Linked DNA regions of Homo sapiens: all the other regions are linked to region 2. The links are contacts of gene promoters, found by promoter capture Hi-C in blood cells and fetal thymus (Javierre and others, 2016). All regions are on one chromosome and are shown on one strand. Each heading gives the region's core, a stretch centred on a gene start or on the middle of the fragment in contact. The rest is flanking DNA. Distances are from core to core; before and after follow the strand shown.

Region 1 (4,132 bases), core at 209-2,708, 200 kb after region 2:
TTACTAGTTCCCAGTTCACCAGAAACGGTCTGCACTTATTAACTGTGAAACCCAGATGTGAAGCCCCATGCTCATACATAGGGAAATGAGGCAAAGGGACTGGCCACAGGCCACCAAAAATTAGAACCCAAAATCCTTAGCTCATGTTTTAAATATTATACTAGAAAAGCAAAGCAGCTTTGGAGGAGCAGATTGTCTTCTACTGATTCTTGTGTTTGGCAGAGAGGCTGCCTTGGAAAGATGCCCTAAGCCCATCTTTTAAAAAGTCCAATCGTAAAGACAGGTTATCTAAGAACTTTATAGATTCTGGAGTCTTTGAAGTGTGTAACTGGGCCAGGGCTACCACAGAAGAAATCACAGACCTAGGGTCTTGATGTAAGAATTTACAAGATAACCAGATAAAGGCTAGTGGGTGAGGAGAGAGCATTAGAACCTCAAAGGAGAGATAAGGAAGGGGTGTGGAGCGAGGGACAATTGGCTTTGCTTTAAAAATATGTAACAAAATGGCCCAGTGTCTCTCACAGAAGGGTTCGGGGAAGGGAAACCAGAGATCGCGTTTTTCCGGCTCTAAGACTGGGTCGGCTTTTAGTCTTCTCTTCTGCTCCTTTTAAAGGAGATGGGGGTGGGGAACGAGAATGCTGGTGGCGATGTGGGCCTGCATCTCCTTCCCTCCTCCAGTCCTGGGAATTCCTGAAAACTCCTTCCAACCCAATTCCAAACAGGCTCTCTCTGGGTTCAGAACAATGCCGGGGAATTTCACGCAGGGAAGGGGTCCCCTTCTCGCCCCAGAGGGCAGGGGGCTACTCCGGAGCGAGTTCCGGCTCCAGGGTCCCCCACGTCCCACAGGTCTCCTGCCCTTTGGCACGCACAGCCCTCACCACTCGCTGCTTCCGCATCCCTCCTCTGAGCCTCTCCCCACGCATCTCTGCCCCTCGCCCGGCCGCGCCCAATCGCCTCCCACGTCTACCCCGCTGGGGCAGCCCCTACACCCTGCCAGGCACCCCATTTCTCTCCTCCAGGTCTGGGGGACTGGACAACATTGGGGATTAGCTGGGGTCAACTCTGCTTCCCCCGCCACCCCCGGCCCCGGGCGCGCGCTCACCCGGCGGCCGCGTTCTCGAACTTGAGCGCGAGCGTCTCCTCGATGATGCGGTTGTTCACCTCCAGCAGGATCATGGCGGCGGCTGCCCCCAGGGGAAGGAGAAACAAGGGCCGGTGAGGGTGGGTAAGGGAGGCAAGGACGGAGGGAGCGGCCCTGCTGCCCCCTGAGTGGGGCTGGGTGGGGTAGGAGGTTAGGGGAGAAGGGGAGAGGGGCCGGGGTGGAGGGAAGGGTAAGACGAACGCGCTGGCCCACGCACGCAGACTGTGGAGACACCCACCCACCCAACCGACCTGGCCCCCGAAGCCTGAACCCGCCTGCCGAGCCGCCGCCGCCGCCGCCACTGCCGCTTCACCGACAAGCCCGGTCCCCGCCCAGCCCCCGGCTCTAGCCGGCCACTTCCGCTCTCACACCCACTTCCGCTCGCCGCCTGGACGCGCGGCCCCGCGGCGCCATTTCCGCTTCAACCACTCGTGAACGCGAGCGCAGGCGCGCCGGAGGAAACGGAGGCTGCGCTTGCGTATGTGTGATGCCGCCGCCCCACCGTCTACTTTCCCACCGACCCCGCTTACGTCTACCGCCTACCAGTGCGTCCCCCGCGGAGCTGTCATTCCCCGAGGCTTGCCTGACTGTTCAGCTTCTCTCTCCCGCTTGTCCCAGAGATCCAACTCCATTCTTCCGGTCTTGTCATTTCAGAAACCTCGCAAGAAGCTCGCCCTTGTCGTCTCCCAGCGGGCTTCTTAGCTCCCAGCTTGTTTGATGGGGGTGCCTCTTTTTCTTTCCAGGTATAGCTGTCCAGCGACACCATCATGCATTCATTTCTCCAACAAACATTTTCATGGGCTCTTGCTCTATACTGGGGATGTAGTGGTAAATGAAATGGACGAGGCCCTGCCCTCGTGGAACTTACAGTCTGGCAAAGGAAACAGACAATAAAATTCTCAGTTGTCTAAGGAGGCAGAGATGCATGGGGAGAGGATCAGAGTAGGGATGCGGAAGCAGCGAGTGGTCAGGAGTGTGCGTGCCAAAAGGCAGGAGACCTGTGGGACGTGGGGGCAGCTGGGGCCGGAACTTGCGCTGGAGGAACACCCCTTGCCTGCTGGGGCGAGAAGAGGACCCTTTCCTTGGGTGAAATTCCCCATATTGTTAAAAGGACAATTAAAGAAATGAAAGAGAGGTCACCTGGGTGAATAGGCAACTTAGATGGGCCTCCCTGTGTTCCTGTCATGCCTCCAATTCTGCGTCCAGGTGTCCGGAACACATTTTTTTCTGCCTTTGAAACCTTCCAGTACCTCTGGCAGAGATATACCATACCCTCCTTGTTACCTGCGTGCGGAATCTTAACTCATCGTTGTGCTACATCTGCACCTTCTGCCTTTGTGCCTTGTTTTGTGTTTTCCCTCCTCCGGGGAGAATATAATAAACTTAGCTGAGTCCGTTCTACATACAAGGAAATAATTTATTTTCTGCTATGTGTTTGGGGATGGGGATAAAAAAATGAACAAGAAACTAGCTCCTATCATTAAGGCACAGATAGCCCTTTGAAACATTACTTAACGGGCTATGGATAAGCTTCAGGATATTGCTGATCCCCTAAAATTATACGCTAACTTAAATTTTTTTTTTTTTGAGACAGAGTCTTGCACTCTTGCCCAGGCTGGAGTGCAATGGCATGATCTCGGCTCACTGCAACCTCTGCCTCCCCGGTTCAAGCGATTCTCCTGCCTCAGCCTCCCAAATAGCTGGGATTAAAGGTGCCTGCCACCATGCCCTTTTAATGTTTTGTATTTTTAGTAGAGACGGGGTTTCACTATGTTGGTCAGGCTGGTCTCGAACTCCTGACATCATGATCCTCCTGCCTCGACCTCCCAAAGTGCTGGGATTACAGGCGTGAGCCACCATGCCCGGCCTTTTTTTTTTTTTTTTTTTAATTTGAGATGGTGTCTCACTCTTGTCACCCAAGCTGGAGTGACGTTGCTATCTCTGCTCACTGCCCGCCTCCCGAGCTCAGGTGATCCTCCTGCCTCGGCCTGCCAAATAGCTGGGACTATAGACATGCACCACCAAGCTGGGCTAATTTCTGTATATTTTGTAGAGACGGGGTTTGGCCGTATTGGGCACGCTGGTCTCAAACTCCTGGGTTCAAGTGATCCACCTGCCTTAGCCTCCTAAAGTGCTGGGATTACAGGCGTGAGCCACCATGCCCGACCGATAAGCTAGCTTTGTAACATTAATGACTATTGAACTAAAATAATGTTTATAAATTGTTTAAAATATGTATGCTTATAATACTAAAAGGCTTGTAATGAAAAAAGCAGTTCCCTGTCCTACTCTTTGGAGGCAATATGCTCAACTCTTTCACAAATTCATCCTGATATTTACCTTCATAATCCCTTTCTTTCTTTCTTTCTTTCTTTCTTTCTTTCTTTCTTTCTTTCTTTCTCTCTCTGTCTTTTTCTTTCTTTCTTTCTTTCTGATAGGGTTTCACTTTGTTACTTAGGCTGGTGTGCAGTGGCACACTCTTGGCTCACTGAAGCCCCGATTTCCCTGGGCCCAAGCAATCCTCCGGCCTCAGACCCCAACTAGCTGGGACTACAGGTGGCCACCAATATGTCCAGCTAATTTTTGTATTTTTAGTAGAGACAGGGTTTCACCGTGTTGCTTCGGCTGGCCTCGAACCCCTGAACTCAAGCGATCCGCCTGCCTTAGCCTCCTAAAGTGCTAGGATTACAAGTGTGAGTCACCGTGCCCGGCCTACCTTCATGTTTCTAAGTAAATGTTTATACCATTATTTTTTGGTTTGTGAATTTTTAGCATTATGTGTTGACTTCCTGACACGGTAGATAAGAACTTGACTCTATCACTTCTGCTTCCCACCATATATAGCTGCGTAATAACTTTTGGTAAAACCAATAATCTGCACCTAGCTGTATTAAAATTATTATGTATGCAAATATTGTTTACTGATGAGCCAAGAAATGCACTATAATCATGACTTCTAGTTTACATGGCCCTTCATTTTTCTTAGGGTTA
Region 2 (4,136 bases), core at 1,468-3,967:
GATTCCAGGGTTAACTGGCAGCAAGAGGAATAGAGGGTGGACATGAGCAGGCACTTCTTGCTTATCAGAGAGGGGATTCAGGGGAGCAGAGACTTGAAAAAGCCAGCGCTCCCCCTCCCCAGAGAGAAATCAGGATTGGGGCCAGCCCCCACAGGCCAAAGGTGGGCAAGGGGACTCAGGAGTGGAAGCTCTGAGATGTGGCCCCCCTACCTGGTGTATACCCTCCAGATGCTCCTGCCCTCTACCCATGTTGGTCAGAGCAGATGCCTCTCCTCCACCCCTTGGTAGGGCCTCCTCCTCACTTCTCCTGTCTTCCCTGAACTTCCAGGAAGACCAGGGCCCGTCACTTCCCCCAGCCCTGCCACCGTGGACTCTGGTTTGGATTTGAGTTGTCTCCTCCTTCAGTTTTAATTCACTGGCTTCCTCCACTCCTGGTACTTTCTCTTCTGTGTCCCCAGACCAGGGAAGGGCATGGTCACCCCAAGACCCCAAAGTCAGCCATCTGTGCAGCATCCTGGACTCTTTCTGCTCCTGCCCTTCCATCCACCTAAACTCCCTTGAGTCTCCCCACTACACACAGCCCCCTGGCCCCTCTCTGCTGGCACTCTGCCCTCTAGAAATGCCACACTGCTGGCGGCCCCACCCCCATGCTGCCTCTCACCCCACGCCTGCTTGCACTGCTCCAATATGGAAAGCTCTCCCCACCTTTCTGACACTAACATGCTCTTCTAGACTCAATTTAGATCTCATTTCTTCCAGGAGACCTTCCTAGAATCCTCAGCTGGACAAGGGGCCCCTCTGCATCCTGGACTGTCCCTTCTCTTGGCCCCCTGACCACATGGTGATGAAATAACCTGTTTGTAAGTTGGAGGTCCCTGAGCTCCAAGACCTAGATATGTTTGTCTTTGCAGCCCCCAGCTCCTAGCACATAGTAGGTGCTCAACAAATACTCATGGGCTGGGCGTGGTGGCTCACGCGTGTAATCCCAGCACTTTGGGAGGCCGAGGCAGGCGGATCACGAGGTCAGGAGATCAAGACCATCCTGGCTAACACGGTGAAACCCTGTCTCTACTAAAAATACAAAAAATTAGCCGGGCGAGATGGTGGGCGCCTGTAGTCCCAGCTACGCGGGAGGCTGAGGCAGGAGAATGGCGTGAACCCAGGGGGTGGAGCCTGCAGTGAGCTGAGATCACGCCACTGCACTCCAGCCTGGATGAAAGAGTGAGACTCCTTCTCAAAAAAAAAACAAAAAAAAAAAAAACAAATACTCATGATGCTGAAAGGCTGAACTGTGGGATGGAAGGAGGACCCTCCCAGGGCACTGGAGGGGTTTGGGCTCCCACTGTCTGCAGGTCCATCTTGCCTTTCTTTCTTTTTTCTTTTTTTCTTTTCTTTTTTTTTTTTTTTTTTTGAGACAGAGTCTCACTCTGTCACCCAGGCTGGAGTGCAATGGTGCAATTCTGGCTCACTGTCATCTCCGCCTCCTGGGTTCAAGCGATTCTCGTGCCTCAGCCTCCCGAGTAGCTGGGACTATAGGCGTGCGCGAGCACACCCAGCTAATTATGTATTTTTAGTAGAAACGGGGTTTCACTATGTTGGTCAGGCTGGTCTTGAAGTCCTGACCTCAAGTGATCCACCCCACTTGGCCTCCCAAAGTGCTGGGATTCCAAGCATGAGGCTCTGCACCTGGCCCACCATGCCTTTCTTATCTGAGCCCTGTTGTACTTGAGTTGCGGCTCTGTTGTAAGTGGGGTGCTGCCACGGCTCCTAGTTCCCAGTCGTGCAGCTCTGAGCTGGACAGGAATGTGGTGGGGCAGTGGGGGTGAAGTCCCACCCCTCAGACAAAGGACATCCTCCTGCTTCCCAGGCTCATGATAGAAGAGGGAATGGACACCCGCCAAGACCCTCCAGCCCAAAGGCTCTGCCCCAGCAGATGATGTCCCGAGAAGACAGCAGCCAGTGTGTCCTCAGAGCCTGGTCTGCAGCTAGCTCCCATTCCTAGTTCTGCTGAATGGGCCCACAGTGGCTGGGGAGGCCAATGGGGCAGCTCCGGGTAGAGGGGAGATGGGGCAGAGGTGCATGCTAGGGTGGCCCGGCATGGCCCAGGACCTAAGGCCCTGCCACCTCCAGCCCCTTGCCTCTGCCCTTGCCTCTGTGTGTGCCCATTCAATTGCTGGTGGCTGTTGCTCATATGCTAGGAGCCAGGAGGCAGGACCCGGAGGTCCCAGGAGTGTCAGAGGAATGGTGACACAAAGAAAAAAACACTTCAGATGAAGAACGCACGGGCAAAGAGATGAGCTGGTGGGGAGGGGGCTCGGGGAGTGAGGTCAGGGAGACCAACTAGTCCCGGTCTGCCCAGCACTGTCCTGGTTTTAACTCTAGAAGTTCCAGGGCAATTGGGATGGTGACACCCAAAGTGGGATGGGGCTAGCCACAGGTAGGAGACTGAGAGAGCCATTGTCTGGGGCAGGGCCTGCAAAAGTCTCTCCCTGGAGGCCCAGGGCAGACACACTGGGCTCCCAGCACTTCTCACGCTATCCAGAGTGTCAAGCCTCCCCTTCGAGCCCGTACCAAGGTGCTCCAGGAGGCCCCAAGTTGCCCGAGAAAAGCAGAGGACCCCGTCCCCTCGCACCACCTAAGGTCTCCATGTGTTCCCACCAGGTTGCCTTACCTGTCTTGGGGAGGCAGCTGCCACCTGGGAGATCTCAGGGAATTGTGGCAAGCTGGCTGCAGAAGAGCGACCTTTGTCCCCACCCCCCCTCCTCTAGGAACTGCCTTCACCATATAAGGGAAGATAGGGCCCCAGAGAGGTGAGGGGGTGGGGAGGCAGGTGCTGCCAGGTCCCTGGGAGCCCAGAGCCCTCCACAGCCTGACAATGAGAGCTGATGTGCCCCACCCTTGGCTTTTTTTTTTTTTTGAGCCTCACTCTGTCATTCAGGCTGGAGTGCAGTGGTATGAATTCGACTCACTGCAACCTCCGCCTCCCAAGTTCAAGTGATTCTCCTGCCTCAGCTTCCCAAGTAACTGGGACTACAGACATGTGCCACCATGCCTGGCTAATTTTTGTATATTTAGCAGAGACAGGGTTTCACCATGTTGGCCAGGCTGGACTTGAACTCCTGACCTCAAATGATCCACCTGCCTCGACCTCCCAAAGTGCTGGGATTACAGGTGTGAGGCCCGGCGCCCAGCCCCTCCCTTGGCTTCTGAGTGAGCAAGGGATGGGGTGCTTTTCTGCCCAGGGCCCAGGCCCTCACCACAGGCAGACAGCACTGTCCAGGTAGGGTCAGCGGCGCCTGAACCTTTCCTCCTACCAACCAAGAGAAGGAGGCTCAGCTGTCCTCCCACCTGCCCTGGGGTGAATGGTTCATGGAGAAAGAGAGGCAGGACTCTAGGGTTGCAGAAGCCCCAAACCCAGGAATGCAGGGACTTATACTCAGGGCCCCTCCAGAACAGATGGGAGGTCTCTTAGAGGTCTCCTAGAGGTCTCTTCTCAGCATGACCCTCACTTAGCAAGGGCCCCAGTGAGCACAACTGCTCCTCCTCTCCACCCTTAGGGGCACTGGCTCCACCTGGAGTGTTTTTTTTGTTTTCGTTTTTTTTGCTGAGATGGAGTCTGTCTCTGTCGCCCAGGCTGGAGTGCAGTGGCGTGATCTCATCTCACTGCATCCTCCGCCTCCTGGGTTCAAGTGATTCTCCTGCCTCAGCCTCCCGAGTAGCTGGGATTACAGCCGCACACCACCACGCCCAGCTAATTTTTGTATTTTTAGTAGAGACGGGGTTTCACCATGTCGGCCAGGCTGGTCTTGAACTCTTGACCTCGTGATCCGCCCACCTCGGCCTCCCAAAGTGCTGGGATTACAGGCGTGAGCCACTGCACCCGGCCCACCTGGAGTTTTTATGAGATGCCATAAACCAGTGCCTTTGAACTCTGTTCTGCTACCCTCTCCCAGAAGCCAAGGTTTCCATGTCTGACCCCTGACCCTAGGGGATCCATCTCACTCAGGCAGGAAAGTTGTGCAGCCAACTCCAGCGTGGATCTCGCTGAGAAACCAGCTTCACACGCAAACTCAGCACCTTGGGCAGCTGCCTCCCAGACTGCAGAAATTCTCCTATCACCTGTGAAGCCTGGTCCT
Region 3 (3,989 bases), core at 1,455-3,954, 230 kb after region 2:
ATATTAAACTGTTTAACAGTAGTTAACATATATCTGGTGCCAACCAGTGTGCCAGGAACTTTGCATTCACCATCTCACTTCGTCCTGCAGATGAGGAAACCGAGGCTCAGAGGAGAATTAATTTTCCCAAGGTCACGGCCAGGTGTGGTGGCTCATGCCTATAATCCCAGAACTTTGGGAGGCTGAGGCAGGTGGATCAGCTGAGGTCAGGAGTTCAAGACCAGCCTGGCCAACATGGTGAAACCCCATCTCTACTAAAAATACAAAAATTAGCCAGGCGTGATAGTATGCACCTGTAATCCCAGCTACTTGGGAGGCTGAGGTAGAAGAATCACTTGAACCCAGGAGGCAGAGCTTGTAGTGAGCCGAGATCAGGCCACTGCACTCCAGCCTGGGCGACAGAGTGAGACGCCTTCTCAAAAAAAAAAAAAAAAAAAAAAAAAAAAAATTCCCGAGATTACAAAACTGGTAAATAGTAGAATTGTTACAATGCTATTCTGCTTCTTCCAGAGATTTAGTTAACAATCATTAGGATATGCAGTATGTGTCTAGGATGAAACACTCTAGGTAATGTAAATGAGTGAAGCACTCTGGCCATGAGGCAAGGAGGGGTAGAAAGTGTGGCAACCAGTTACAGGTTAAAGAAGTTGGCCAAGACAATGCCAGCTGATAGCCCCAACATGTTATTGTGAACAATTTTAAACATAAAGAAAAGTTGGGCCTGGCGCAGTGGCTCACGCCTGTAATCCCAATACTTTGGGAGGCCGAGGTGGGTGGATCACCCGAGGTCAGGAGTTTGAGACCAGCCTGACCAACATGGAGAAACGCTGTCTATTAAAAATACAAAAAATTAGCCAGGTGTGGTGGCTCATGCCTGTAATCCCAACTACTCGGGAGGCTGAGGCAGGAGAATTGCTTGAACCCAGGAGGCAGAGGTTGCAGCGAGCTGAGATCACGCCATCGCACTCCAGCCTGGGCAACAAGAGTGAAACTCCATCTCAAAAAAAAAAAAAAAAAAAAAAGAGAAAAGAAAAGTTGACAGAATTTCACTGTCTACTTGTACATCTACTACCTAGATTCTGCCATTAACATTTTACCTGCTTTATCTCATATTTATCCATTATCCATCCCTATAGCCATTAATCTATTCTTTTGGATGTGTTTCAAAGTAACTGTGGACACCAGTATACTTCTCCCTAAATACATCAGTGTGTACATCATTGATTAGAGATCAATATTTGTTTATAGTTTTTTTTTTTTTTTTGAGACGGAGTCTCTGTTGCCCACACTGGAGTGCAGTGGTGCGATCTTGGCTCACTGCAACCTCCGCCTCCCAAATTCAAGTGATTCTCCTGCCTCAGCCTCCCAAGTAGCTGGGATTACAGGCATGCGCCACCATGCCCTGCTAATTTTTGTATTTTTAGTAGAGACGGGGCTTCACCATGTTGGCCAGGCTGGTCTCAAACTCCTGACCTCAAGTGATCCTCCTACCTTGGCCTCCTAAAGTGCTAGGATTACAGGCGTGAGCCACTGCACCTGGCCTTTAGTGTTTTCTTTTGATGTAAAATTTGTAGACAATGAAGTGCACAAATCTTAAGTGTATATTCACTAAGTTTCAACTAATAGGTGCCCCTGTGTAATCCCAATGCCCATCAATATAGAAAACATTACCATCATTCCTAAAAATCCTCTCATGTCCCCCCATGGCTGGTTTGTCTCTGCCTCCATCCTCCCAGAGGTAACTTCTGCTCTGATTATTTTCAGATTAGTTTCACCTGTTCTAGAACTTCATAGAAGTGGAAGGCTTCTTTTACTCAGTGTAATGTTTTTAAGATACATCATGTTGTGGAGTATATCAGTAATTCAGTCCTTTTTATTGATGAGAATGACTCCATTGTATGACTATTCCACTGTATGTTTAGCCATTCTCCTATTGATGGACACCTGGACTGTTTCTAGTTTTTGGCAATTATCAATAAAGCTATTGATATTTTTGTGAACATATTATTTTCATTTCTCTTGGGCATATTCCTAGGAGTGGGATTGCTGGGTCAGAAAGTAGAAGAAACTGCCAGACCTTTTACCAAAGTGTTTGCACCATTTTACATTCCCACTAATTATATGTGAGGATTCCAGCTATACTACAACCCACTAATAGTCGATATTATCATGCTTTTGTATTTTTAGTCATTCTGGTGATGTGATGTTTGATTGTGTAATGAGATTTCTTTTCTTTTTCTTTCTTTTTTTTCTTTTCAGATAGAATCTCACTTTCACCCAGGCTGGGTCTCAGCTCACTGCAACCTCTGCCTACGAGGCTCAAACAATTCTCCCACCTCAGCCTCTTGAGTAGTTGGGACTATAGGTGCATATCAGCACGCCTGGCTAATTTTTGCATTTTTTGTAGAGATGGGGTTTCGCCAGGCTGCCCAGGCTGGTCTCAAACTCCTGGCCTCAAGTGATCCACCTGCCTTGGCCTCCCAAAGTGCGTGGATTACAGGCGTGAGCCACTGTGTCTGGCCCACATTGTTGATAAAACCTTCCTTTCCCTCACTGGATTGCTTTGGAACTTCTGTTGAAAATCAAGTGATGGTGTAAGTGTGGCTCTATTTCTAGGATTTCTTTTACATTCTAGGTTTAGCTGAGTTTTGCCATGAGCTCAGTGTTGTCAAATCTTCAATTTTTTTTTTTTTTTTTTTTTTTTTTAAGATGGAGTTTTGCTTTTGTCTCCCAGGCTGGAGTGCAATGGTATGATCTCGGCTCACTGCAACCTCTACCTCCCGGGTTCAAGTGATTCTCCCGCCTCAGCCTCCTGAGTAGCTGGGATTACAGGTGCATGCCACCATGTCCAGCAAATTTTCATATTTTTAGTGGAGACAGGGTTTCACCATGTTGGCCAGGCTCTTCTTGAACTCCTGACCTCAGGTGATCCACCCGCCTTGGCCTCCCAAAGAGCTGGGATTACAGGCATGAGCCATGGCGCCCAGCCCAGATCTTCAAAATTTTAAAGGAGAGTGTATAAATCCAGATGTTTTTAAATGTGAAAAAGCCTCAAGGTTTAAAAGTCAGAAACCAATTCTAATTTAAACAAACAAGGAAACCAATCCCAGGCAGTCAAAGAAACTCATCTGCAGGCTGAACTAGATGTGTGGCATTGGAACAGGGAGAGGTAGTTTCAGCAGGAGTCTGGATACATGTGTGTATATATATGTATATAAAATTATTTTTTGAGACAAGGTTTTGGTCTGTTGCCCAGGCTGGAGTGCAGTGGTGTGATCATGGCTCATTGCATCCTTGACCTCCTGGGCTTGAGCAATCCTCCCACCTCAGCCTCCTGAGTAGCTGGGACCACAGGTGTGTTCCACCACACCTGGCTAATTTTGAAAATTGCTTTGTAGAGGTATGAGGTTCCACTGTGTTGCCCAGGCTGGTCTTGAATGCCTGGGCTTAAACGATCCTCCTGCCTCGACCTCCTAAAGTGCTGGAATTACAGGGGTGAGCCACTGTGCCCAGCCTGGATATATGTATATTAAAGTATAAATCAAGGGTCTTATTTTAATTGAAAGATAATGGGAGTGTTCTCAGGGCAAGTAGGTGGGTTCCAGTGGTCAGTGAAAGTCAATAAGAATTCACTGCAAGGGTAAAATTAAAGCCTGTGGGTCAAGGTTTCCTTGGTGCCTAGGAAAGTGGAGGAGCACATTTGTGAAGCTATTAGAATTGCATTTAGAAACCGTAAGGACAGGAAGGGCTAAGGGGAGGCACTGAGTGGAGGCAGTTGACAAACCAGTGACAGGAAAGACACAGGGCCAAGAGAGCCCAAAGTGAGCTGATTTGGAGAATCTGGAGCAGAGGGAATAAAGAGAATCACAGGTCTCTAAACCCAGGGCCCAGAAAGATGCTCCCTGGAATTGGCTGGAGGCTTCCTTGGCTCTGTGGGTGGAAATTGAGACAGAGCAGCCAGAAGACATACAACTGCACATGCCAGAGCT
Region 4 (3,842 bases), core at 937-3,436, 250 kb before region 2:
AACGGGTCGGCGCCCGCCAGGCCAGTTCAGGCCTCGCCGCATCCGGTTCGATCCCTTTTCCTCCAGCTTCACGCCATCCCTTTCTCTCCTCCTCAAATGAATTTTCTCAGGGGCTTTGGGGGATGCCTGCCCATCAGACCTCCCCATCTCCCTTTCTCCTCTCAGAACCAGTGCCCTCCAGTTCCGGCCCCCTTTCCCCTTGGATCAGCCTTTTTCCGCCGACGCTTTCCTCAGCCTTCTCTCTCTCACACAGCACTAGTGAGGACTATTGTATGAATAAAGCTTTACACTTCATATAAAGTCCCTCTAGTCCTTCTCTCAAGCATTCTTAACCAAAGACTAGAACATGGAAGGACTCTGGGATTTGGAAGTAGGATCAATGTGGGTTAACTCCACATTTTATTAGCTGTGTGATGCTGAACAGGCCATCTAGCTTCTGTGAGTCAGTGTCCTCAGCTGTAAAAAAAAAAAGTGGGTGTGGCATTTACCTCAGAATAGTTGAGAGGATCACGACGGATTTGTAATATACTTAAGTCTGTTTTTTGTTTTGTTTTGTTTTGTTTTTTGAGACAGAGTCTCACTCTCGCCCACGCTGGAGTGCGGTGGTGCGATTACGGCTCACTGCAGCCTCGACCTCCCCAGGCTCAGGTGATCCTTCTGCCTCAGCCTTCCGAGTAGCTGAGACTACAGGTGTGTGCCACCATGCCTGGCTAATTTTTGTATTTTTTGTAGAGACGGAGTTTTGCCATGTTGGCCAGACTGGTCTTGAACCCCTGGGTTCAAGTGATCCTCCCACCTCAGCCTCCCAAGGTGCTGGAATTACAGGCGTGAGCCACCACACCCGGCCTCCTTTTCATTAATAACTGAGGTGCAGGCACCTGGGAAGACTAGATGAGTCCCAAAGAAGTAAAGTGATTTGCCAAAAGATAGAAAATTATGAATAGAAATCCATATCTGTCTGACTCCACACCTTAGATTCTTTGTACTAGGACATTCTTCAGTCCCCACTCCCCCAATTTTTTTTTTTTTTTTTTTTTTTTTTGAGACGGAGTCTTGCTCTGTCGCCCAGGCTGGAGTGCAGTGGCGCAATCTCGGTTCACTGCAAGCTCCGCCTCCCGGGTTCATGCCATTCTCCTGCCTCAGCCTCCCGAGTAGCTGGGACTACAGGCGCCCGCCACCACACCCAGCTAATTTTTTGTGATTTTTAGTAGAGACGGGGTTTCACCCTGTTAGCCAGGATGGTCTCTATCTCCTGACTTCATGATCCACCCGCCTCAGCCTCCCAAAGTGCTGGGATTACAGGCCTGAGCCACCGCGCCCGGCCCCCCTCCCCCATTTTGTTGTCACCACCTTACCACCATCCCATCCAGGACCCATATAACTAGGGTGGGCGAAGTATTGAAGGGCCACTTGACTGAGGCTACACCTCAATGTTACATTGGTTCAGGGAGCCCAGCTAGTACTGGCCGTTATTAAGAGTATCTAGACTACTGGTTTTCAAAGTGTTCAGGGAAACTTCTTTTTTTTTTTTTTTTTTAAGAGACAGAGTCTTACTTTGTCACCCAGGCTGGAGTACAGTGGCAAGATCATGGCTCACTACAGCCTCGACCTCCTGGGCTCCCGTGATTCTTCTGCCTCAGTCTCCCAAGTAGCTGGGACCACCGTGTCCAGTTAATTTTTTATTTTTTGTAGAGATAGTGTCTCGCTTTGTTGCCCAGGCTGGTCTCGAACTCCTGGCCTCAAGTGATCCTCCCACCTCAGCCTCCCAAAGCGCTGGGATAACTTACAGTTTACCTGTTCAGGGGAACTTTTAAGATTCAGGGGAGACACCTTGAGCCATGGAGACAGCAACAATGAGTGCAGCAGCCTGTAGTACTGTGAGACTCCCACTCCCATGTCAGCCAGAACTACACTGTTATCTGTGAGGTGTGAAGCTTTATATTTTATATTTTGAAGTTTCTGCCTAAGACTTAACAACACTGACATAGGTCGTGCTGGGGCAGCCTTACTCTTAGAATGAAGAGGGAGCAGTGTGAGAAAGCAAAGTGTGCATTTTTCCATGTATCACTTGGTAGAGCTGTAGACACAAACTGATCACTCAGCTTCAATTTCATTACAACTGCTGTTTCTATGCTTAAGTATGTGTGTCCCTTGATTTACATCAGAACCATGGATCCTAACCTCAACAGGCTGATCTAGATCAACCAGACAGCCAGGTCATAAATACATCCAGAGTACTCTATTACCTCCTTCCTTCCCTCTTTCCTTCTAAGGGAGAAGGTTATATACAGACAGGAAAAAAAGAGGACGTAGACTAGCTACGATAGCCCAGATACTATTAGGTACTTTATGTAAACAAATCACCTTTTATCCTCACAATAACCCTAGAGAGTAGGTGTTATTATCTATATGTGACAGACAGGATAACTTAAGCTTACAGAGAGGTCACGTCCCAGATTGCATAGCTTGTAAGTGATTGGTACCTGTTAACTAACTCCGAGGCTGCTGGCTCTTCCATTACAACACAGCCTTTATACCACCCTAAATATGTTGTGTTGAGGTTGCTATCTCCTTTAAGAAGGCTTAGGGTGACTGGTGTTAAAACTGTATGTAGACAGTAGCCAAGGCACTGGGATCCACACTGGACAGTGACGTAGGGAAAGGTTGGAGTAATATTGGTAACGTTAATGCTAATGAATGAGTGCCATATCTCTAGACCAGAGATTCAGCCACTAAGGGGAATGAAACTTAAACAGGGAGTCAGGAAACCTGGCTCTGGGCCTAGTTCTACCTATGTTAAGCCTTGGTTAGTCATTTTACTTCTCTAGAATCCACTTCTTCATCTGTTGGCAGAAATGATGCCTAAAATTCTGATTTCCATGCCTTCTATTTGGCCAGTTGACAACTTAAGGTAACATATTCCTTGTTTTTAAGGAGTTTAGCAGGAGAATGCATTCTGGTAGATTGCCATTTTTCTACAAAGCCTGCCTTTATTGGCCTTAGCAGGCTTCCACAGGGAGAGCTGTAATGGTAAGTTAGTCTACTCCTGTCTCTCTAGGGTCCTTCCCTCTGAAGTTGAAGTATTGGAGTCCATCTATCTAGATGAACTACAGGTGATTAAAGGAAATGGCAGGTATGTATTCAACCAGTGGTGGGCAGGAGTCCCCCTAGTAATGAGGAGAGGTTCTATGCTGAATTTGGGTCTTAAGACATTGTGAGCCTTGATTCAGAGATAATATTTCTCTTGTGTAGACAAAAGCTATTCCTTTAATCCTACCCCAAAAGAAAGAGTCCAATGTGTACTTCCTTTGCCCACTTCACTGTCTCAGCCCCATCCTCCCCAGCCCCCAAGCCCCTACCCAGTCACATCTGCGTGTCCACTTGATCCACCTGCAGAACTTCACCATGGGAGATCTACATCACTTTGCATCCTGCCACTGCAGAGGACCAGGATTCACAGTATGTCTGCTTCACTCTGGTGCTTCAGGTCCCAGCAGAGGTGAAGCCCCTACTGTGTGGCAGCAAAGGGAGGAAGGGGAGAGTCCCTGGGGTGGACCGCTTCAGCAGTAACTTGTTATTTGCCCCCACTAGTATCCCCATGAGGTGCCACAGATCTCTATCCGAAATCCCCGAGGACTTTCAGATGAACAGATCCACACGTAAGTTGAACCTGTCAGAACAGGGAAAACTCAGCTACAGCTTTGCCCGGTGACAGAAATGGGCAGGTCTAATATTTGGTTTGCCCTCTTCCTCCAGGATCTTACAGGTGCTGGGCCACGTGGCCAAGGCTGGGCTGGGCACTGCCATGCTGTATGAACTCATTGAGGTAAGAGGTGCGCTAG
Region 5 (3,889 bases), core at 726-3,225, 160 kb after region 2:
AGACGAGGAGGCAGGACCAGTAACCCCGGCGACTCTGGTTCCACAGCCCTGGCAATGTGGGCAATGCCAGACCCGTGAGCAGCCCAGCCAGCAGTAGGCTCAGGAAGAAGCAGCCAGCAGGTGGGCTGCGCAGGCGGCGGTCCCAGGCGATGCCCAGGGCTAGGAGCAGGTTCGCGGTGATGATGAGGCTTGCCAGGGCCAGGGAGAGCCCCAAAGCCCCCTTGGGAATGGGGCTGGGCACCTCGCCAGTGCTGTTGGGCGTCATCTTGGTCCTGGGGACAGGGGAGTCCTGGAGCGGCAGCCGGCATGCCTGCAGGATGGGGTGGCCAGAGTTAGGATGGGGCTGCAGGTCGTGTCCTCCTGGCAGGGCAGCATGTTAATCCAGGGGCGCAGACCCGCAGGCTGTGGGCTGTATCATGTTCGCTGATACACAGAATTTTTCAATTAATTGCCAATTAAACATTTATATAAAAAACTATCTTTGGTTTCTATTGAAAATTCAGGTCTGGCAACACATATGTCCTGTGTGGTAGCAACCAGCCGGAGCTCACTGCTGGCTGCCCTTCGGACAGTCCCCACCCAGCCAGCTTTATCCATTTCTGGTATCTGCCTTTTCTGGGCAGCTGTGTTGAGGTCTCTTGTTTAGACTGAAAGGCGGGCCCATCCAGCCCCAAAGCATTTTGTGTATCCCTGCCTCCACCGGGGAGGCCTCTAAATGAGAGAATGGACCAGGGCTGGCTGGTGTGTAGTGGTCTTCCAGCCAGCCATTAGGTGACAGGCTCCAGCGGGCCAGGTCTCGGGCACCCTGCACCCTTCCCCCCATCTGTCCTTGTAGCCATCACAGCTCAGTGAGCAGCCTCCGGGTAGGACTTCCAGCCCATAAACTTGACTCGTCTTTGCTCCACACTAGCAACAGGGTCCTTCCTGGGAGCTGGAGGGAGGAGAGAAGCAGCTGGAGGGCACGTGTGGCAGTGAACGTGGAGATGCCAGCAGCAAGGAGAGGGACTCCCCCACACCCCCAGGCCTGAGGCTGAGCCCAGAGGAGAGGGAAGAGGAGTCTGGGCAGAGTCTGGCTTCTCTGTGGCTCTCATCTGTCCCTGTCCTTCCCGTCATTCCCTGGTCTCAGTCCTCCAGTGTCATGGCTCTGCTGCCACATCCTGGGGACAGGGGGAGGGGTCCTGGGTCCTGTGGGAACTCCTGCTTCTGTCAACAGGGGAGCAGCTGCTGTTGCTAGGATCCAAGTCAATAAGGAAAGGATTCATACCTCTCCCCTCCTCCAGGACAGGGGATCAGGGCCCCATGGCTGCCCTGAGCTGAGAGGAAGGAAGATGCTCCCCTTCCTTCCCAGGTTCCCCCAGCACCCTGAGCCTGGGCCTCCAAGGCCTTATGCCCCCTTTCCCCTCCCCTAAGCATGTTTTCTCTTTCTCAATCTCTTCCAGTGCCCTCCACCCAGGATGTCTTTTCCTCTCTAGAGGCCTTGCAGTTTCTGTTCCCTTTCCCAGGGCATCATCAACTCTCTTAAGTCCCGTGAGACTCAGGGTCCATTACCCCAAACCTGGCCTGAGCTGGAGCTCCCAGCCCTAATCGGAATGATTCCCCCCAACCCACCTCCACTAGAACAGCGACAAAGGCAGGGAGCAGCCCCCAGGGGTGATTTCCCAGCAGGGTGCAGGCTGTACCACCTGCACACCCCCGAGGGTCTGGTGGCTTGGGCTGGGTGTAGTAGCCTCTCCAGGATCTGGGGTTTGGGGGTTTGGGGGAGTAGCTACTCACATGGCTGTTGGGAGCAGGTATTGCCTGCCCAGCCTGGGCCTTCCTGAGTGTCAGGGAGTTGCTGCAGCCAGCCCTGCAGCGGTTTGGACCATGTCTGGTGTCCTGGCTGAAGAGCACAAGTGGACCAAGTGCATGGTGTCTCCACCCAGTGGGGACAGCGGGGCCAGGCTCTCCTACCCAGGCTCTGCCCGTCTGGGTTCTCAGAGGGATAGAGAAATGAGGCTGGCAGGACTCAGCCCTGGCCCCGCCTCTGGGAGGGTGGGACCTGACATATTCCAAACTGCAGCAACTGGGAGGCCTGCCTCCCCCTCCCACCCAGTTCCCCTCTCCCCCTGCCACCTAGGTGGCAGTTTCCCTACTCCAGCTCGGAGTAATCTGAGAAATGCATTCCAGTTAATGAATAATAATGATTGACTTACCCCTCCCGACTTCCCGCCTCAGCTGATGCATTTACATTTAAGCCCCTGGACTGGCCAGCCAGCTGACAGCACACCAGGCTCCCTCCACACTTCCGTGTGTGATGGTGGCAGTGGCAGGTGTTTGGGGCCTGAGGATCTTCACTCCCCCATCCCATCACCTGATGGGCCTTTCAGTTTCTAAGGCCAGACTTGCCTTCCTGAATCTGGGGTCATTCCACACTTTTCTCAACTGCTTTCTGAGTCAAGTTCTGAACTATGAGGGACAAATGGCTCTGGGGATGTGACCATGGGTAAGGTACTACTGGGCCTCGGTTTTTGCCTGTGTTAAAATGGGAACAAGAAAAACCACCTCTAATTAAGGTCGTGGTGGGGAATATCACAGGATAACACATATGGCGGCATATACCCCAGTGCATGGCCCTTGATGGGTGGGGGTTTGCCCCAACAAATGGCTCCCTCTCTTTCCTCCCCCATGATGAAGAGGCATGAGCTGGCGCTGGAATCAGAGCTGTCTGGATCCTTTTTTAAAAAAGCCAGTGAACTTGGGCAAATGACTAAAGTTCCCTTGCCTTAGTTTCCTCATCTGTCAAATGGGGCCCATAGTTGTACTCACCTATCGTGAGACTAAATGAAGTCCCGTGTGATGAGGACTCAGATCAACACTTGGCCCTTCAGCACTCCGCGACAGGCAGCGATCGCTGGGAACATTATTAGGATTTCTGCCTTTCTCTGCACCTGGCCCCTCTAAGACAGATCTGCTGAGAGGGGCGCATGGGGAGCTTGGGAAAAGCAAGAGGGGAGTGACACTCTTGCTGCACAGGGAAGCTGAGGAAACCAGATACATTGAGAGGGAAGGGCAAGTTCAAGGCTGGGAAGCCAGAAGTGGTGCTTTGATTTCCACCTTGTATCAAGTGCGGCTTTGGAGTGAGGGGGAGGAGAGAAGCCCAGCCACACTCCCTTAAGGCCTGAAATGGGAGGGAACAGGCGGAAATTGCAGCAGGAAAGCTGGGACTGGGGGTGAGACATTAGGAAACACTTGCTGGCTGAAGAGCGCAAGTAAATGGAGCAAAGGGACTCTGGTGCTCTCCGGGAGAGCTGGGCCTGAAGGGCTGGAAGCCCGTGGAGTGTGGCTGTGCCAGCTCTGCACAGCCAGTCAGGGATCCTGGAGATCAGGGACTTCTGTTGGGACAAAAAGTGGGAAGAGGAAAGCATCCAGCCTCAAGTCCATCCTCGAGGGAGCTGGTGGGTCGGAAGGACGCAGGGTTCCAGGGCCGGTCCTCAGAACCACGGGATCTGGTCGGGCAGAAGTCACAGGCTCTGGGAGAGTTCAGCCTGGGGCCTGGACAGAAGTGGGTGTGGGACCCTTCTGATATGTGACTTCCAGGAATAAACAGACCTCCTGTTCCCAGCCCCAGCCTGCTCCCTGTGGGATCCAGGATGTCTGTTTCTTCTCTGCTGCTCTGTCTAAACACTGTGTGTGGGATGTGTGTGAAGGGGGACAGATTAGGTAGTGGCAGCCAGGGAGCCTGGGCTGTCTCCTGCTCAGCCTCATTTCTCCCTTCCTAGATCATCTAGTTCCTGTCTGTTCCATCAAGCCCTGGGGCTGACTCACCCCCTAGCTTCTCCCTTCAGCCACGGAGGGCTCTGGTGCAAGCCGTCTTCAGACGCTCCATCCAGCTGACTGTGCCCGGACCCCA
Region 6 (3,971 bases), core at 1,285-3,784, 160 kb before region 2:
TTCAGATATACGAAGCATTCCGGTATTAGAAGTAAGACAAACAAACAAAAAAAGACAGTGGTGTGTGCCTGTGCCCATGGTCCCTATTACTTGGGAGGCTGAGGCAGGAGGATCACTTGAGCCTAGGAGTTCAATTCCAGCCTGGGTAACACAGCAAGACCCTATCAGAAAGAAAAGAAAAGAAAAGAAGAGAAGAGAAGAGAGAAGGGAAGAGGAGAAGTCCCAAATTTAAACTCTTATTCCTTTAATAATACTCTTTATATATTGAATCAAGTTCTTATGCTTTACTCTCCCTACAATTCCAGCAAATGTTTCCACATATATGCTGAATTTAATCCCAAATGTTGGATCTCAAAGTCTTATTAACAACACTTAGAAGAGTGCTTGATAGGAGTCATCATGTTCCTGATACTTATTGATTAGTGAATGAGACAACCTCAAAGACAAAAATGAATGACTGGTGTACAAAAATCATAACCGGCAAGACAAAACACCCAACTTAGACTACTACTGTGAGTATTTCAGGCTTGCAAAACAATTCTAATAACTTACCAATAACTCCAAGGCTGGTGAGCCGGAGATACTCAAAGGGACGTGTTTTGCTGACAGTGTGCAAAAAGGGGTACAAAAAAAGTGGGATGTGTGCTGCGAGAAACGCTGACCTGGAAGAAAACAATAATTACATTCACAGCCCAGGGTTGATTTCTAAGGATCCTGAACTTTCAAATTTCTAGGTGGTTAATTCTGTAAGGCCTTAACATTGTCAGAGCAAGGAATCCTTAGGAAAACAATGTTACTGGTCATTAGTCTCAACCAATGGTTCTCAAATGGGGTAAATTTTGCCCCCTGGAGGACATGTGGCAATGTCTGGAGACATCTTTGATTGTCACAACTCAGGATTATGAAGCACTATTGGCATCCAGTGGGAAGAGGCCAGAGATGCCATTAAACATCCTACAATGCACAGGACAGTCCTCTCCTGCCCTCTCCTTTCCATCACAAAGATTCATCCAGCCCCAAATGGTAATGGTGCCAAAGCTGAAAACCCTAGTCCAGATCACAGTGGTTAAGAAAACACATGATTTTCCCTGTAATCAGCAAAAAGTACCTTACAAACTGATTAACTTAAAATATCCAATTGTGGATTTTAAAAAATAGACCACAAAATGCTATTAAGTGTCCAAGAGATTGTCCTAGATTATCTCCCTCACCTATGACTGAATAATAGTATTCACAGGTGCAGTCGAATAAACCTTACAAACCAATACAACAAAACAAAGCAGCCATTATCAGGCTTACCTGCTATACTTTAATAAGCACATTCTTCTTTTTTTGTTAGGGCATTTCAGATACACAAACCATTCTGAAAACAGTTTAGTCAGGCAACTAATAAGGAAATCAGTCTATTATTTTATATTATTTATAGTTACACCTTGTAGAAGAGCCAACGCCCAAGATTTTTAACACTCAAAGTACTCTTGTGTTTTTGTTAAGTGCTTAAAAGTAATTTTCTTAGTAATTTCTCTAAAGCTGTGTAAGGTCAGTGCCAACCTAGCATACATATTTCATAAGGAAACTTGACAAAGAGGAAAGGCTTTAATAAGATGACTATTAAGTGCCTTTGGGGCCATAAAAGCCCACAAAGTAGATTCCTGAACAGGATTTCCCTTTTCTTAATTTTTTAGATATGACAGGTGGCAAAAATATTTTAACTTACATGCCAATTCTCGTCTATTATAGAGGCCGCCCAGAATGCTATGTTAAGAAGGATTCTGAAGTCAAATCTGGGTTCAGTGTGGGAAAAGTGCTGGAAAAATAATTACTAAACTCCTCTTATATGCCATGCACTATGCCTCACAGATGACATAGTGTCAATAACAGGTCAGGGAGTGAGAAGTAGCTGTATGCCTGATACCTTTCCTGTAATGTGAACACTGTTTCTTTAAAGTTCATTGGGTAAAAGTAAATAAGAATCCGGAAGACCAGGAGAGAGAGAGAGAGAGAGAGAGAGAGAGAGAGAGAGAGAGAGAGAGAGAGAGACACACACACACACACACACACACACACACACACACACACAAACGTTCTCTCTCTCTCTCCTCCATGCCCTTCCTTTTATTATTCAGAGAACGTTTAGGACCATATTCAATGTATATCTCCCCCAAGTGACTCACCCAAAGCATTTACCTGGTTTCTGGATGTGATGCTACACATTGCAGTAATGCCAGAGCATTGCAAACTCTGTTAGACTGGTGTGCTGTCAAGGTGGGTGGGTTGATAGATGGATAAATATTTACAATTTCCTAAAAAATGGAAATCAGCATCAGATGAATAAGGAATAACTAAAAATTAATTCCCATGGTAATAAAGCAAAAAAAAAAAAAGGCAAATAAAATAGCTCTTAATTCTGTGCATCTTTTAAGAACTCAGTCATCAAAGAGGGAGCAGAAATAATGCTCATATCCTTTCATCACAAACTTACTTGGCTGAGACTAGCTAAGACATTTCTACATTTGTCTCTAGGAAGATTTTTTTTTTTGAGACTCACATTTCTACATTTGTCTCTAGGAAGATTTTTTTTTTTGAGACGGAGTCTCGCTCTGTTACCCGGGCTGGAGTGCAGTGGCACGATCTTGACTCACTGCAAGCTCTGCCTCCCAGGTTCACACCATTCTCCTGCCTCAGCCTCCAGAGTAGCTGGGACTACAGGCGCCTGCCACCACGCCCAGCTAATTTTTTGTATTTTTAGTAGAGATGGGGTTTCACCGTGTTAGCCAGGATGGTCTCGATCTGCTGACCTCGTGATCTGCCCGTCTCGGCCTCCCAAAGTGCTGGGATTTCAGGCGTGAGCCACTGCGCCCGGCCTAGGAAGATTTCTGTGGAGGCAAATGTAGTCATCTACACTTCCTCTTATATTCTCCAGCTACTGAGGCTATCAGTTGAGGGATACTCAAATTTTTATAATTTTGCTAGCATCCTGCTTTAAGTTACAGTGATGAGATCACTGGCCAGAAAGTGTTAAGTCAACCACGGTGACTCATAAAGAAGTTTGAATTTGGTTAGGTAGTAACATGGTAAGGACATGAATCAATGGGTGGGGATATGTATAAACAGCAGTGAATATATGCACTATCTGTCAAAAAGTAATGATTTACTCAATACAATTCCATTTACATTTTTTTTCTTTTTTTTTGAGACAGGGTCTCACTCTGTCATCCAGGCAGAGTGCAGTGGCATGATCATGGCTCACTGCAGCCTCCACCTCCTGGGCTCAATTGATCCTCCTACTTCAGCTTCCCAAGTAGCTGGGATTACAGGAGTGTACCACCAAGCCTGGCTAATTTTTGTATTTTTTGTAGAAATGGTGTTTCGCCATGTTGCCCAGGTTGGTCTCAAACTCCTGGGCTCAAGCAATCCTCCTAACTCAGTCTGCCAAACTGCTGGGATTACAAGCATGACCCACTGCACCTGGCTACAATTTTCCATTTACATTATTTGTAAAACTTTTACATAGAAAAACGTTCCCATAACAAAGATCAGTTTCTTGGCTAAATGCAATAGAGATGGAATGTGAATTTACTTAAGAGTTGAAAAGTTAATCTAATTGTTAGGAATTTGGGGCAATACTTTAATGGATGATCATGCCACTACCTAGGTATTTTGGTATTGTTATTGTACCATATCAGTTAATTAGCCACCAGTGACCATTCTGGTTTGAACTGAACTTCAGTTATCTATTCTTTAATGTACAAGTGTACCCACCTTTAATACTACAGCTGTTATACCTTCAACATTTCCTTTCCAGGCCAGGCATGGTGGCTCATGCCTGTAATCTCAACATTTTGGGAGGCCAAGGTGGGTGGATCACGAGGTCAGGAGTTCAAGATCAGCCTGACCAACATGGTGAAACTCCGTATCTACTAAAAATTAAAAAAAAAAAAGCCAGGCATGGTGATGCAGGCCTATAATCC

The links. Contacts are between HindIII fragments. The CHiCAGO score rates a contact against its expected background, and 5 or more counts as called.
Region 1: the fragment with the promoter of ARPC2 here is called in contact with the fragment with the promoter of VIL1 in region 2 in 6 of 17 cell types (naive CD8 T cells, neutrophils, non-activated CD4 T cells and 3 more); the score reaches 6.4 in naive CD8 T cells.
Region 3: a fragment that was not itself captured here is called in contact with the fragment with the promoter of VIL1 in region 2 in 1 of 17 cell types (neutrophils); the score reaches 6.5 in neutrophils.
Region 4: a contact is called between a fragment that was not itself captured here and the fragment with the promoter of VIL1 in region 2, in 6 of 17 cell types (fetal thymus, total CD4 T cells, naive CD8 T cells and 3 more). The highest score is 9.0, in fetal thymus.
Region 5: the fragment with the promoter of GPBAR1 here is called in contact with the fragment with the promoter of VIL1 in region 2 in 1 of 17 cell types (neutrophils); the score reaches 5.7 in neutrophils.
Region 6: a fragment that was not itself captured here is called in contact with the fragment with the promoter of VIL1 in region 2 in 1 of 17 cell types (erythroblasts); the score reaches 6.6 in erythroblasts.

Annotation. Positions count from the first base shown.
Region 1 is chr2:218,214,515-218,218,646 of GRCh38, reverse strand. It overlaps ARPC2 (actin related protein 2/3 complex subunit 2), which reads right to left and starts at 1,458. Exons shown (of 11, transcript NM_152862.3): 1 at 1,393-1,458; 2 at 1,103-1,184. The coding sequence starts at 1,176. It overlaps LOC101928487 (a long non-coding RNA gene), which reads left to right and starts at 1,461. Exons shown (of 2, transcript XR_923908.2): 1 at 1,461-1,619; 2 at 1,796-2,546. RefSeq lists a silencer at 1,275-1,324 and an enhancer at 846-1,449. The HindIII fragment of the contact is 6,430 bases long and covers 1-2,673 here.
Region 2 is chr2:218,417,704-218,421,839 of GRCh38, reverse strand. It overlaps VIL1 (villin 1), which reads right to left and starts at 2,717. Exons shown (of 20, transcript NM_007127.3): 1 at 2,672-2,717. The HindIII fragment of the contact is 19,335 bases long and covers 1-4,136 here.
Region 3 is chr2:218,187,804-218,191,792 of GRCh38, reverse strand. No RefSeq gene overlaps it. Among named protein-coding and RNA genes, the nearest start is that of CXCR1, 23 kb to the right of the region's middle. The HindIII fragment of the contact is 6,006 bases long and covers 1-3,989 here.
Region 4 is chr2:218,667,896-218,671,737 of GRCh38, reverse strand. It overlaps RNF25 (ring finger protein 25), which reads left to right. Exons shown (of 10, transcript NM_022453.3): 2 at 3,059-3,133; 3 at 3,397-3,499; 4 at 3,592-3,659; 5 at 3,757-3,826. Among named protein-coding and RNA genes, the nearest start is that of RNF25, 2.2 kb to the left of the region's middle. The HindIII fragment of the contact is 499 bases long and covers 1,937-2,435 here.
Region 5 is chr2:218,259,101-218,262,989 of GRCh38, reverse strand. It overlaps GPBAR1 (G protein-coupled bile acid receptor 1), which reads right to left and starts at 1,975. Exons shown (of 2, transcript NM_170699.3): 1 at 1,774-1,975; 2 at 1-310. The coding sequence starts at 265. RefSeq lists an enhancer at 723-1,528. The HindIII fragment of the contact is 11,967 bases long and covers 1-3,889 here.
Region 6 is chr2:218,581,303-218,585,273 of GRCh38, reverse strand. It overlaps CNOT9 (CCR4-NOT transcription complex subunit 9), which reads right to left. Exons shown (of 8, transcript NM_005444.3): 3 at 2,188-2,303; 4 at 553-662. Among named protein-coding and RNA genes, the nearest start is that of CNOT9, 14 kb to the right of the region's middle. The HindIII fragment of the contact is 8,800 bases long and covers 1-3,971 here.